Regions from separate parts of the Homo sapiens genome. Here region 2 is linked to region 1. Evidence: promoter capture Hi-C in human tissues and cell types (Jung and others, 2019). All regions are on one chromosome and are shown on one strand. The core of a region is centred on a gene start or on the middle of the fragment in contact, and the rest is flanking DNA. Distances in the headings are between cores, read along the strand shown. Region 1 holds the start of FGF4 (fibroblast growth factor 4). Region 2 has its middle 42 kb from the start of FGF3.

Region 1 (7,402 bases), core at 4,372-6,871:
GGGTTGAGTATCTGATATGTGCAAAAGATCTGCACGCGTGTGCACAGGGAGGCAGGTGGTTTTATTGATTCGCAGTCATTGAAACCGCCCCCAAAGCCTGTCGCCCAGACCTGGCTGGGCCACCTTCAGAGTAGAAGAGAAACAGGGCAGAATAACGGGAGAGGGGAAACTCTCCTGGACGCAGAACTGGGTAAGACATCGCTATAAGCCAAGGAGTGACCTGCTGTCTCTTTAATGCCCCAGGATCAAGGTAACTTGAAAACAACAACAACAACAACAAAAAACAAACAAACAAACAACAACAAAAAAAAAAACATGGAAAACAGTATGGCAGTTTCTCAAAAACTTAAACATAGAATTATCACCTCATCCAGCAATTCCATTTCTGGGCATATTCCCACAAGAAATGAAAGCAGGAACTCAAACAGATATTTGCACACCGAGGTTCACAGCAGCATCGTCCACAGTAGCCAAAAGGTGGGAGCAGCTCAGGGACCGCTGACAGATAAGTAAATAAATAAAACGTGGCCCATCCATACCTGGAATATTATTCAGCCTCTAAAAAAGAAAAAAAGAAAGCAAACTCCCACACATGCTACATCGTGGATGAATCTTGATGATGTTATGCTAAGTGAAATCAGCCAGATACAAAAAGGACAAACATTGTGTGATTCCACTCATGAGGTCCCTAAGTAGTCAAATTCGTAGACACAGAAAGCGAAGATGGTGGGTGCCGGGGCTGGGGGAGCCGAATGGGGAGCAAGTGTTTAATGGGCAGGGAGTTTCAGTTTGGGAAGATGAAAACCATCTGGAGATGGATGGTGGTGATGGTTGCACTAGAATGTGAGTGTCCTTAATGCCACTTACCCGTGCACTTAACAATGGCTAAAATGAGAGAGGCTGTGAGTGTGTGGGGACAGAGGGTGTAAGGGAACTCTCTGTACCTTCCTCTCCATTTTGCTGTGAACTTAAAACTGCTCTGAAAAAAGTCTTTTAAAAAATAGTTAACATCAGGCCAGACACGGTGGCTCATGCCTGTAATCCTAGCACTTTGGGAGGCCGAGGTGGGTGGATCACGAGGTCAGGAGACCGAGACCATCCTGGCTAACACGGTAAAACCCCATCTCTACTAAAAATACAAAAAAAAAAAAAAAATTAGCCGGGCGTGGTGGCGGGCGCTTGTAGTCCCAGCTACTCAGGAGGCTGAGGCAGGAGAATGGCGTGAACCTGGGAGGCGGAGCTTGCAGTGAGCCACGATCGCGCCACTGCACTCCAGCCTGGGTGACAGAGCAAGACTCCACCTCAAAAAAAAAATAGGTTAACATCAATTTTATGTTATGTATCATGTATATTTTACCACCTTTTTTTTTCTTTTTTGAGACGGAGACTCGCTCTGTAGCGCCCAGGCTGGAGTGCACTGGCGCGATCTCAGCTCACTGCAACCTCCACCTCCCAGGTTCAAGCGATTCTCCTGCCTCAGCCTCCTGAGTAGCTGGGATTACAGGCATGCACCACTACGCCCAGCTAATTTTGTATTTTTAGTAGAAATGGGGTTTCACAATGTTGGCCAGGCTGGTCTCGAACTCCTGACCTCAAGTGATCTGCCTGCCTCGGCCTCCCAAAGTGCTGGGATTACAGGGGTGAGCCACCGCACCCAATTAACACCATTTTTTAAAAAGCTAAAAAAAAAAATTGGCTCAATCTCCCCTTATTCTGAAGGTCCTAAAGAAAAACATGCCACTTGCTTTGGGGTGCTTCGGCTCAGTGTAGACCAGTCTATCCCACCGGCCTTATCATCCTCCTGGACTTTTGCAGAAAGACATCATTGTGAGGGTGTCTTGCTGAAGCCAAGAAAGGGAAGTTGAATTGAGAAAGCAGTTGAGCTATTTACAAAGTTTACACAGCCTGGGCCCTTGCCCCGGGCTGAGCTCAGTCATTTTGCCCTGAGGACTATAAGTGGACTATTATGCAGCACTTTCTTTTTTATTATTATTACTATTAAGCCAAGTAAGTTCTTAACAGCTAACACCTGAGCTGGTGGCTCTGAGAAGCCTCTTCACTCCTTCACGGGAGACGGGACCATTCACATGAAGATCCTACATTGTTGTTTTTTTTTTTTTGGAGGTCGAAAAAGGTCACTGTTAGGAGGCTTTCTGGGCCTTTGCTCCTCTCCCTCAATTTATTACCCCTCCAGTGGCTGATGACGTACAGGGAGACTTCCACCCGATAATGACATGGCTTTGTTTATTTCACAAATTCCCAGCATTTACTGTTAATCAGACCCAGTTTGAACCACCCCCAAGGGGCTTGCAGTCTAAACAGCTCACTTTGCTCAGCCTCTTCCTGAGGTCAGGCACTGTCTTGCTAAGGCCGACATCAGCTCATGCCCATTTTACAGATGGGGAAACTGAGAATGCTAAGAAGTGAAATAGCGTAAGGTTATACAACTAACAGGGAGACAGCCTAAACTTGAACCCAACCGGAAGCCCAACATGGCCCCAAGCCTTCCTCGAACCCCAGGACTTGGCAAAGCGGGCGTCCTGGGGTAAAGCATGGCAGAAGGGCTTTGGGTCCAAGCTAAGTGAGGGTCCTGTTTCTAGATCACCTGGCCAGGTGCAGTGGCTCATGCCTGTAATCCCAGCACTTTGGGAGGCTGAGGCGGGAGGATTGCTTGAGGTCAAAAGTTTGAGTCCAGCCCGGGCAATACAGCGAGACCTCGTCTCTACTAAAAAAGAAAACAAAAAATTAGCTGAGTGTGTAGTCCCAGCTACTCAGGAGACTGAGGCTGGAGGATTGCTTAAGCCTGGAAGTTTGAGGCTGTAGAGCTATGATAGAGCCACTGCACTTTAGCCTGGGCAATGGAGCAAGATACTATCTCAAAAAAAAAAAAAAAATTATATATAGGTCCCCTTGTCTCTCTGCTGAGAAGTAACCAGATCTGGAAAAGATTTAGTCACCTTGGTCCAACTATTTCTTTCACATAAAGAAAAAAAAAGGCAATGCAGACCTTCCCATAGGGGCAGCTCTGCCTGAGGCCTTTGCAGGTACCTCTGTTTGTCTGCCCCGGGGCACAGTGGCAGATTGGGCAGGGCAGCTTGCAGTGAGGATTGCTGATGGATGAGCTCCTAGTGTACCTAGCCAGCCATTTACTCACAAACAGCTATTGAGCACCTACTATGTGCCCAGCACTGGAGGTACAACTGGCAACAACACAAATCCGGGCTTGCTCCATGGAGATGACAATCTAAATGCGGTGGAGGGTCAGCTAACAAGTGCAGAAGGTTCTCTTAAGAGCTCAAAGAAGCTCCAACCAGAAGGACTGGGCAGGGGATCCAGAAGGCATCCCCGAGTGGCTACTCCAATGGAGTGGCTTCTCCATTCAGGCAAACCTGAATGGGATAAGTCATTGGCAGGAAGATCTGGGGCCGGGGGTCATCCAGTGGGAAGGGGAGAGATGACGCGGTCAGCATGGCGGGAACACAGGAGCAGAAAGGAAGCAGGTGGGAAGCCAGGTCAAGGGCCAGGGGCACGGAAAGGGGTCAGATGCAGATAAGTGAGTGCTTCCTGGTGCATCCTTCATCCGCAATTCTTCCTTACCTGTGCTTTTGTTGCCTCCATTGCACAGCTGAGGAGGCCAGGGCCTGCGGAGGTTGAGAGTGTGCTCAGGGAGCACCCGGAGCAAAGTGGAAGCCAGATTCCAGATCAGTTCTGCTGGGAATTCCCAGCTCCCAAAAGCCCTGCTGGCTGTCAGTCCCCAGTCACCACAAGCACCTATCCTGTGTGGGTGGGCCTGCAGTTCTGGGAGATATATCAGCTGCCTGCAGCGTCCTTTGCTGAACTCACAGCAAATAGGAGAGACAGGGAGGGGTCCTTGGGAAGCCCTAAATTGAGCTTGCTGTGGGAGTCCTGGGAAGAAAGGAGCCTCATCCTATCAAAAGCCGGGGGAAGACATCAGAGTCCCTCTGCTCAGGTCAGCTGGCACAGGTGGGTCTCCAGGCCTGGGTCTCACTTCCCCAGAGGGTGTGTTCGGTTGGCCCCAGGCTGAGGGAGGAAAGCCCACCTCCCATGTCATTTTGCAAATGGGGAGTCAGGGACCTAGAGATGGAAAGACAACACAGCAAGTGAGGGATGGGTTCTAGGTCCCCTGCACCCTGCACCCTGCACCCTGGCCAACGATGTCTATTTGGCACCAGATCTGCAGGCTCATCTGGGGGACCCCAGGACCCAGAGGCAGCCGGGTTGCATCTCGAAGCTGTGAGCTGCAGCCCAGGAAGGTCCAGGTCTGGGTGGCGCTGCCCAAGCAGGCTGCAGGCCCAAGGAGGAACAAAGATCCTCTCAAGGGGTGCGGAGCTGAGGTTCCGGTCCTGCCAAAGCCACTTGATGACCCCCAAGTGCCCCCCTTTCTGCACCTCAGAGAAGAGCCCTCAAGCCTCCCAGGTCCCCTCCAGGGGCACGAATAAGCCCCAGCAGGGTTCTGAAGGGGTCCCAGGAATCTCCCTGTGGGGATGCGGTGGAGGTGGAGGAGGCTGCGGTGGCCTGGGGACATCTCTGGTCACAGGTGCTGGTGGTATGAGAGATGGGGTAGGCACCAAGCCCCCTGCAGCTGTGGCTAGGCGGGCCTGCAGGAAGGGCCAGGCAGGCTCCTCAGGGACCACAAAGAACAGGGGTTTTCACACCTAGGTGGGCCTGCATCTAGCTAGGACAGTCCCCATCAGGCCATAATGGGCACAGTGGGAGGTAGAACCATGAGTGAGAGAGGGGAGGCTTCCAGAGGCCTGGCCTGGGTCCCTGCTAGATTGAGGGCTCTGGCTATGGTACATGGATATTTCTGCTGTGGAATCAAAGGAGCAGGGGATGCTGAATATCCCCTCTGGCCCTATGCCCTGCTACCTGTCCTTTCACGGAAGGGTGTGTGTGTAGGGGGTGCAGGACCAGGCCTCCCTGGGTGCATCTCTGCCACCTTGCCCTTTGGCTCAGGTGGACCTCCACCAGGTATTCAGAACTCCAGCCCAGAAACGCGCCAAGCCTGTGGGGCCAAGACCTAGGGGGTGGGGGTGGCCTCCCTCCCGCCTGTAGCCAAAGGGTCCTCCCTTGCCCAGCCAGGCCCCGGTGTCGCTTACTGCTCTTATCCACCCCTCCTTCCCAGGCCGGTCCTCAAGGCCCCAGCAAAGGAACCAAGTTCCCGTGAGCCTCCGAAAGGCGAAGGGCAGGCAGCAGCCGCTGGCTTCTGCGCCCACTAGGAGCTTCGGATGCCCGAGTTAGGGCTGCGCCAAGGCGGCCGGAGCAGAGAGGGAGACGGGGACGGGGACAGGCAGGGACAAAGTGCAAGAGGCAAAACTGGCTGAAAAGCAGAAGTGTAGGAGCCGCCAAGGGGCGGGACGAACAGGTCCGTGGGCCGGGCGGAGCCAAGGGTGGGGGCCGGGGTCCCTCCAGGTGGCACTCGCGGCGCTAGTCCCCAGCCTCCTCCCTTCCCCCGGCCCTGATTGGCAGGCGGCCTGCGACCAGCCGCGAACGCCACAGCGCCCCGGGCGCCCAGGAGAACGCGAACGGCCCCCCGCGGGAGCGGGCGAGTAGGAGGGGGCGCCGGGCTATATATATAGCGGCTCGGCCTCGGGCGGGCCTGGCGCTCAGGGAGGCGCGCACTGCTCCTCAGAGTCCCAGCTCCAGCCGCGCGCTTTCCGCCCGGCTCGCCGCTCCATGCAGCCGGGGTAGAGCCCGGCGCCCGGGGGCCCCGTCGCTTGCCTCCCGCACCTCCTCGGTTGCGCACTCCTGCCCGAGGTCGGCCGTGCGCTCCCGCGGGACGCCACAGGCGCAGCTCTGCCCCCCAGCTTCCCGGGCGCACTGACCGCCTGACCGACGCACGGCCCTCGGGCCGGGATGTCGGGGCCCGGGACGGCCGCGGTAGCGCTGCTCCCGGCGGTCCTGCTGGCCTTGCTGGCGCCCTGGGCGGGCCGAGGGGGCGCCGCCGCACCCACTGCACCCAACGGCACGCTGGAGGCCGAGCTGGAGCGCCGCTGGGAGAGCCTGGTGGCGCTCTCGTTGGCGCGCCTGCCGGTGGCAGCGCAGCCCAAGGAGGCGGCCGTCCAGAGCGGCGCCGGCGACTACCTGCTGGGCATCAAGCGGCTGCGGCGGCTCTACTGCAACGTGGGCATCGGCTTCCACCTCCAGGCGCTCCCCGACGGCCGCATCGGCGGCGCGCACGCGGACACCCGCGACAGTGAGTGGCGCGGCCAGGCGCGAAGGGGCGGGGGCGGGGGGCAACGGCCGCCGGGCCAACCCGCTCAGTCACACTCTGAGACCCTCGGCGGGCACCTGCTCGGGGGCCCCGGGAACCGGGGCGGACTCGGGCTCCGGTCCCTTCTGACGCGGGGCTGGGGACGCAGACACTCTTGGCTCCGGCAGCCCAGCGCAACCCCTGAGGTCGGGCGCCGCCTCCCGCCTTCAGAAACTCGGGCTCCGAGCGCCGAATTCCAGCGCCTTCGCCCGTGGGCACAGGGCGCGCGGTGCAGCCACAGGGGGCCCGAGACACGCGCCCCGGCCTGGCCCAGGCTGGGGAACCGCTGGGGTCGGGCTCGCGTCTGAAGGTCCGGGACTGGGTGCGGCCGCCGGGGGTCCCCTACACAGGCAAGCTAATCTGAGCTAGCGCAGGCTTGGGCTCCGGAGGCCCTAGAGGGCAGCTTGGGCTCTGGAGGCCCTTGGGGGCGGCTGCGCCGGGAACCCTGGCCCTTTATCCCCAACCCCACCCCAGAAATAGGGTCCCCGGAGGCGAACAAGCCGAGGGGCGGAGTGGGCCAGGGATCACCTGCCCCGCAATGACCTGCGCCCCGCCCCCAGGCCTGCTGGAGCTCTCGCCCGTGGAGCGGGGCGTGGTGAGCATCTTCGGCGTGGCCAGCCGGTTCTTCGTGGCCATGAGCAGCAAGGGCAAGCTCTATGGCTCGGTGAGTACCGCAGGGGTCTGGCTAGGCACCTAGTTGGGAACAGCGGACATGGCTAGCAGGCTCGTGGCTTCTCCAGCCCCACCTGTGCCTGGGTCTTGGAGGGGTGGCAGGGTCACCAGGTCACGGGACCGGCAGGCCTCCCCAGACAAAGGAAGCAGCCCCAAGGCAGGAACAATGAGGTTCCTGCCATCCCTGAGTGGGCCCCTCCCAGACCGAGGAAAGGGCGCTATTGAGAGCCCTTCCCTTCTCTAGTCCAGAGGGGTAGGTCTCAGTGTTGGAACTGCGGGCTTGAGGCTGGACACGGAGGGAATGAATTCTCTGGCTGCTAGGTGCAGGGCAGGTGGTGAGAGCACCAGCTGTTGTGGGCTGGCCATGTCCCCTTCTCACCCTGTGTGGGTCTTGACACCTTAACTGCTCAGCAGAGACATCTCAGCCCAGGGTGGGGGGTGGGACAGAAGGGGGTT
Region 2 (7,402 bases), core at 2,630-5,129, 86 kb before region 1:
TATGCGGGGCTCCCACAGCTGTCTCATGACTGGGCCCAAGCCAAAGAGAGGGGCTGAGAACCCAGCTTTGTGACTCACCGGCTGTGTGACCGTGAGTAGGAAGCCACCCCTCTCTGGGCTGACAGCACCTTGCTCCTGATGTCCAGAGCTCAGGCCATCACCCCGTCCTTGCCAGTATCTCCACCCCAGTGAGAGAGGAAACGGATGCCAACCCGGGGCTCTGACCCCCAAAGGCCAGGCTCTTTTCAGTCCCTGTGCACCCGCCACCCACTCACATCCATGCCCCAGCGGCTGCCTCTGCAGTCCCAGGGACCCTCCTGGCTGAGCCTCCCCCCATCACCCCATCCACCATTCTGTGCTGGGCACGAGCTCGGTCTCCACCATGGGAAGGTGCCCAGCCAGCCCTGGGCTTCACCTCCAGCAGCTGCCTCTGCCTACAGTCTCTCCTGCATCCCCACTCCCGGGCATGGCTGGGCTCTTCTCCACCCTCTGCTCAGAGGTCACCCTCCCGCCCTAACGCTGCTTCCACGTCCCCCTCCTACGCTGCTCCAGCTGCCTCCTGCTCACCTCTGCTTTACTTTCTTCCTCTCGCTTCTCCCCTCCCCAGAAACCAGACTGGGCACTGGTTCCCTCCCTCCCTGTGGTGTGAGCTCAGGGAAGGAGAGACCACGTGGATGGGTCCCACGGCACCTCCAGCCCTCAGAACGCACCTAGCATGGCCTTCTCTCTATTTCCTTGTATTTTCAATGATTTCACCCAAGACCAGAGATGCGGAGGGGCCTTCCCGAGGTCACACTGCAGGTCAAAGGGGCCTCCCTGGGGCTCTCTGCCCATTCCTAGAGGTGGCAGAGGCCACCGTGCTCCCTGCCTTTCCTCCCCCACAGCCTGGCCACTGCACGGCCCCTACTCCTGCCATTTCTGTCCCCCACTGCACCCACCCCACCCCCCCAAATGTTCAGTGGCAATCCTGGCAAATGTCTACAAAATCGAGTTTTCCCAGCAGGATGCAACGCATCTGCTTGGCCTGAGTCACCTGCCCCACAGCCCACAGAGCTGAAAACTTGGAGCAAAAGGAACAGTGGCCTCCAGGGCACCATAGCCTGGCCCACCATTTAAGGGGGTGGTGGGATGAAAGGAGGGGTGGGGGAAAGAAGGCAGCATTGACCTAAATCAAGGTGGACACTTGAGGCCCCGGCCGTGTGCGGCTACTTGTGGCTCTGCAGGTGGCGGGAGGCCCTCTGCACCCACCTGCCCTGTGAACCCAGGTCCAAAGCCGCAGTGAGGGCCTGGAAGCCGGAGGGAGCCAGGATGGAAGCTGCTTCTTTGAGGGCCAAAGGGTTTCCGCGTGTGCAAAGGCAGGGCGCTGCATTGGGTGGGTCCCAGAGGCTGTCCTGCCGTGGCTGCACCTCTCTGTGCCCCACCCCACCCCACCAAACCTCACTGGGGAAGGAGGAAGCCTCAGGGGGCTCTTGGGGGCTCAGAAGGCCCAACTGCAGCAGGTGCTCACCAGTGCCTGGGCCTCAGAGCTGGGAGCCCTTCCTGGCCTTGAGAAATGACAGGGCCGTGGACTTGGAAGCATCCATGCTGGGACATATGACACAGCAGTGGGCCTAGTAAAGTGTCAAACCACGCGGCAGCTCAGATAGACCTTCCCGAATGGCCTGGATGGAGAGAAGCCACAGAGCGGCCACAGAGGAGCACATCCAGCGGGATCCCACGTACAGAGAGCTGCAAAGAGCCCAAATGAACCTGCTGGGGGACACAGGTGGGCGGTCACACCACACAGACGAGCAGGGAAGTGAGTCCCCGAGGGTCAGGGCTGGGGAGCGAGTGGTCTGGCGGGACACTGGTCTCTTCGTGGCCTGGGTGGATGTTGTCTGAGAGCGAGTGTGCGGCTGCCTGGGCTCTGGAGTGGGCTGGCTCTCCCACTGGTGCGGTGATGTGGGGAGCTCACATGACCTCTCCCTTTCTTATCTGTGAAATGGGGGCACAGGTCTACATCCCTCCTGGGTGGTCATGAGGGCTAATAGAGTGTGGAAGCCTCAGTTATGAGTGAAGGAAGCTGCTGCCCACCCTGTAGCCACCACCACCACCACCATCATCATCATCATCATAGATGTCTTCAGGTCAAAGGCCAGGGAAGGCGCTGCTGCTGCTCTCCTTGGCTGTCCCTGAGGCCTGGAACTTGGGGGAGGAGGAAGAGGAGGTCTTCTCAGCTGACTCTGAAGCCAACAAGGATTCAGGGTTATGGGGATCCCAGGGGTGGGGACAGATGTCAGCCTCTGGCTGCAATGGGCAGTAAGTGGGGCCAGGGCAGCCTGACCCCCAGGGGACCAGGGAGTTGCTGGTGGGTGCTGCAACTTCTTTAGTGATCAGTAAAACTCCCACCTCTGCCCCCATAGAAGGCCTCCTGGAGGGAGCTATCTCCTGGGGCCCGGCCGTTGACACCTCCATGGACAGGCTGAAGTAGTTGGCTTTTGAGTGTCTCTCCAAGACAGCAATTTGCCACCTCATTATGAGCTTGATGGATGAGCACTGACCGGGACAGCCGTCCCCTTGGGTGGGGGAGTGGCCCTGGGCCACCCAAGGCCCAGAGAAAGGCAGCTGATGTGCATGACAAAATGTTTTCTTACCGCCCGGTGCCAGTGACAGCCCCTCAAAGGAAATGCAGTCTCTGCAGAAGTGATTCATGCGCCCGTCTTTGTGGGGCCGAGATTGGCTGTTGTTTGGCGGTTGAAGAAAGGGCCACCGGCTCCTTGTAGTCTCTGGGAATGCCGTCTCCGTGGGCCACCAGCCCCCCGGTCAGCACGCACGAGGCCACTCTTCATTTTGATGAGGTTTCCAAAGGCCCTGGCTGCAGCCGGGGCCACTGCTTGGTCGGGGCCACTGCAGGCCGGCTCAGTAGCAACCTTTGCGGGCCGTGCTTGATTCCATAAGAGAGAAAGGGCCCCTGCCAGCCCATCTGTAATCTTCGATAGCACCAGGTCCCCAGCAACCTGCACCCACCAAGGGGTCATCAAATATGCACTATGTCATCAGCTGATTGACACCTTGCTCCCCTCCACGAGGGCCATTCTTACAACCCCAATATTCCCCGACCATTCCCTCCACGGGTCTCTGTTTGCCTGTTGCCATGCTCCAGGCCTTGGATACAGCTGTGAGCGGGACAGACTGGGCTCATGTGGCTGTGTGTCCCACAAGGGAAAGCCGGACAGTAAACCAATGCGTGGGTGAGATGTCCAATGTGACCAGTGCTCAGGGGCAGGCAGTGGTGGGGCTTGTGTCCTTGCTAGGGTGGTCAGGGAAGCTTCTCCAAGGGGGTGATCCAGTGTGATGATGGACAATTTCTGCATTTCTCTGAGTTTCTTCCCCGTAAAACAGGGATAATAGTAGTTGTATCATACAGTTGTTGCATGCATGAAATGACACACAGCATGAGACACACTCAGCTCCATCGGGGATGCAGTAAGACCTCAATAAACCACACAGCTATTACATTGCGGCTGCCATTGTCATTAATTTTTAGTTTCAGATCATTCCAGTTAGAAGCCTTTCCAGATCCTATGAACCTCTGTTCATTAATCTTTCACTTAGCCAATGCTTCTGGGGCAATGAGTCCTCAGAAACTAGGTTTGCCCAGAGTGTCGGAGGCCCCTCCAAAAGCGGGGGCTGGCAGGACCACGGCCGTTTCCTGCAGGAGAAAGATGAGAGAGAGGTAGAGGTGGCCACTATCCAGGTGAAGCAAGAGGAGCCCTCGTTTTTGACACCTGTCCCAGATGGGCAGGAGTTCTGGATTGCCAAGGTCAGCCTTGGGTCTGTGCAGGTGAGCCCAAGGATTTGGAGCTACTTGGTCTGAGGAGTGAGAGCTGAGCTCTGGGGAAGAAGTTGTCAAAGTAAAAGCAGAAAGGGTCCTGGAAAAAGCACTCGACTAGGAAGCTGGAGTCCAGGGTTCTAGCCCCACAATATGCCTGTACCTTGCTGCCTCCCTTTGGGCAGGTCACCTGATCCCTCTTGGTGTCATCCCTCCTATAATGGGCTGGACCAAGCGAATGCTCCGTGCACTGCATCCCAAGAGTCCTGGGGATCTGCTGGAGGTGTTGCGGGATCTGGGTTTAGAGTGAGAGTGGCTCAGGAAGGACAGTACCAAGTAGTTATCACTGCACAGCAAACCACTCCAAACTCGGTGACTTCACATGAGGAGTGCTTCTTCTATTCACAAGCCCAGGGGTCAGCCGGGCAGTCCTGCTTATCTGGATGAAGCTCGGGGGATCTTGGCTGGACTCATCGTATGTCTGCAGACAGCAGGTGGGCTGGCTGGTTTAGGATGCCCTCACTTCCATGCCTGAAGATTGGGCAGCTCTCAGCTGGAGTCACGGTGGACCACTGGGCCACTGTCTCTCTTCCTCCAGCAGGCCAGCCCCTGGTAAGAGTCCTGGGTCCTCTTAGGGCCTAGGCTCAGAATTGGTGGCTGGTCTCTGCTGCCACAATTCTATTTTTTTTTTCTTTTTTGAGACAGAGTCTCTCTCTGTTGCTCAGGCTGGAGTGCAGTGGTGTAATCATGGCTCACTGCAACCTTCGCCTTCCCAGCTCAAGCAATCCTCTCACCTTAGCCTTCTGAGTAGGTGGGACTGCAGGTGCATGCTACCATGGCAACACAAACTAATTTTTTGTGTTTTTTTGTAGAGACAGGGTTTCACTGTGTTGTCCAGGCTGGTCTCGAACTCTTGGACTCAAGCAATCTTCCCTCCTCCGCCTCTCAAAGTGCTGTGATTACAGGCATGAGCCACTGCACCCAGCCACTGCAGTCACATTTTTTTGGCCAAAGCAAGTTACAAAACCAACCCTGATTCAAGGGACAGGGAAATAGACTTTGCCTCTTGCTAGGAATTGCTGCAACCAGGAGTGTTGAGTTGGGGAGGAAAATAATTAGGGGCATTTCTGCAGTCATTTAACCACGAGGACCAACAAACAAGACTTGAAGCGGGGTGGGGCCAGAAGCAGGAGAGACGCACTGTAAACAGGATCCTCTCCAGAGGGCAACATGGAGTCCAGCTCAGAGGTAGAGCTCACATTTTCCTCCAAAACTACACGTGGCTATTTTTTCTTCCTGGTATTACCCCATCCCCTTGTGTGTATATTTTTTAAAGAAGAAAACATTCTCTCAGATTAAACAAAATTGTACTTGTGATCACAGTCTCAGCTTTTACACCGTGAGAACATCGGAGGATTTGTGTAGGAAGCCTGAAGGTGTGTCGCTGTGGGTGACCCGTGGGCCAGTCTGTAGAAAAGACAAGAACTGCAAGTTCGTATAATACAAAAGCCTCCCCTGCTGCATGGGAAGAAATGGATCTGGTACCTTAGAACTGGGGAGTAAAGGGATAAATGAGAAGAAGCGACAGCTCTTCCTTACCAAAGAATCCAATTAATAAATGTAGAAAGAATTTGGAAAATAGAAAATCACCATTAGAACAACAAAGTCATCACAGTCATAATGTGTCCAGAGTTGGTTCCCGCTGGTGGGTTCGTGGTCTCGCTGACTTCAAGAATGAAGCAGCAGACCTTCGTGGTGGGTGCTACAGCTCTTAAAGATGTCCCGGACCCAAAGAGTAAGTAGCAGCAAGGTTTATTGTGAAGAGCAAAAGGACAAAGCTTCCACCACATCCAAGGGGACCCGAGTGAGTTGCCCCTGCTGGCTGAGGTGGCCAGCTTTTATTTCCCTATTGGCCCCGCCCATGTTCTGTTTCTGTCCTATCAGAATGCCCTTTTTTCAGTCCTCCCAGTGATTGGCTACTTTTAGAATCCTGCTGATTGGTGCATTTTGCAGAGCACTGATTGGTGTGTTTTACAGAGCGCTGACTGGTGAGTTTTACAGAGCGCTGACTGGTGCGTTTTACAGAGGGCTAATTGGTGCATTTTACAATCCTCTTTTAAGACAGGAAAGTTCCCTAAGTCCCCACTCGACCCAGAAAGTCCAGCTGGCCTCACTTCTCAATAATTGTTACAGGTAATATCTGCTGGTTGAGGCTAAAATTAGTGGGTACAAGTTTGAGGAGAAAGAGGATATTTGCATAGTCTGAAAGTATTGCTCCTAAAGTTATTAATTACAACAGGAAAAGTAGTAAGGAAGACACCACCTTAACCAAGTGATCTAGGTTAACTTTGCCACTAATGAGATACAGTGACATGGGCATTGCTTCTAGGGTATTCTTGCAAAAATGCATAACCTCCACCTTATCATGAGATAACATCAGATAAACCCAAATTGAGGAAAATTCTGCTAAATAACTTACCATCACTCTTCAAAAGCGTCAAAGTCACGAAAGATAAGACAAGGCTGAGGAAGTGTCTCAGACTGAGGAGGCTAGGAGGATATGACAAGTAAATACAATATGATGTCCTGGACTGGATCCTGGAACGGGAAAAGGACATAGCGATGAAATTTATGAAACCTGAATCAGGTCTGTAGTTTAGTTGATAGTGTTGAACCCATGTTAATTTCTTAGTTTCGACAATTATATTTGGCTGCTTGAGATACTAACATTAAAGGAAGCTGGGTAAGGAAGTCTTGGGACTATTTACTGCCACTTTTCTTTCAGTTGAAAATTATTTCAAAATAAAAAGCTAAAAAAAAAACTATGTGAAGCAAAGTAATTTTGGTTCCAACCATATTGTACTGAGTATTAAGATCACCCTTTCATCATAAACAACTATTCAACTGGGTGCAATATTTAAAATAACTTTTGAAGGCATCAGACAACAGAAAATACAGGGCTGTTTTCCTTCATGGGGAAAGACATATGGGAATAAGCCCCGCCTTCATTCTGGCTTTATACTTGAGGGAAATTTCTAAACTGAGGCACAAGGCAGCCAAACCCAACCTAAAGCAGCATTCTTGCCATTGCAGCTCTAGAACAAGGGCTCTTCTAGGCCCACAATAACAAGGAATGAAAATAATCTTCAATCAAACTGTTTCACCAATAAATTAACAGCCTGTTAAGGGGAGAAAAATTCTCAAGATTCTTTAAAGGAAGACAATAAAATCCAGACTAAAACAACATAGCATTTGCAATGTCTAACGTACAGTAGAAAAATTACTAGACATTCAAAGAGGCAGAAAAAATGTGACCCATACTCAGAAGAGAAAAAGTAATTAATAGAAACAAACGCAGAGATGACACAGATGATTTAGCAGACTTTAAAACAACGTGAGCGTTAGAGGTGCCAACACCCCATACAGTCAAAAATCCATGTTTAACTTTTGAATCCCTCAAAACTTAACTGCCTGTTGTTGACCAGAAGCTTACCAATAACAAATAGTTGATTAACACATATTTTGTAAGTTTTACGTGTTATACACTGTATTCTTACAATAAAGTAAGCTAGAGAAAAGAAAATGTTATTA

Evidence for each region. Contacts are between HindIII fragments. The study calls those that stand out against the background at their distance.
Region 2: a fragment that was not itself captured here is called in contact with the fragment with the promoter of FGF4 in region 1 in 5 of the 25 tissues and cell types used here (heart left ventricle, mesenchymal stem cells, mesendoderm cells and 2 more).

The regions. Positions count from the first base shown.
Region 1 is chr11:69,773,560-69,780,961 of GRCh38, reverse strand. It overlaps FGF4 (fibroblast growth factor 4), which reads left to right and starts at 5,621. Exons shown (of 3, transcript NM_002007.4): 1 at 5,621-6,217; 2 at 6,835-6,938. The coding sequence starts at 5,878. RefSeq lists enhancers at 3,949-4,872, 6,722-7,402 and promoters at 5,337-5,732, 4,620-5,732. The HindIII fragment of the contact is 23,973 bases long and covers 1-7,402 here.
Region 2 is chr11:69,857,898-69,865,299 of GRCh38, reverse strand. No RefSeq gene overlaps it. Among named protein-coding and RNA genes, the nearest start is that of FGF3, 42 kb to the right of the region's middle. RefSeq lists an enhancer at 1-543. The HindIII fragment of the contact is 5,190 bases long and covers 1,285-6,474 here.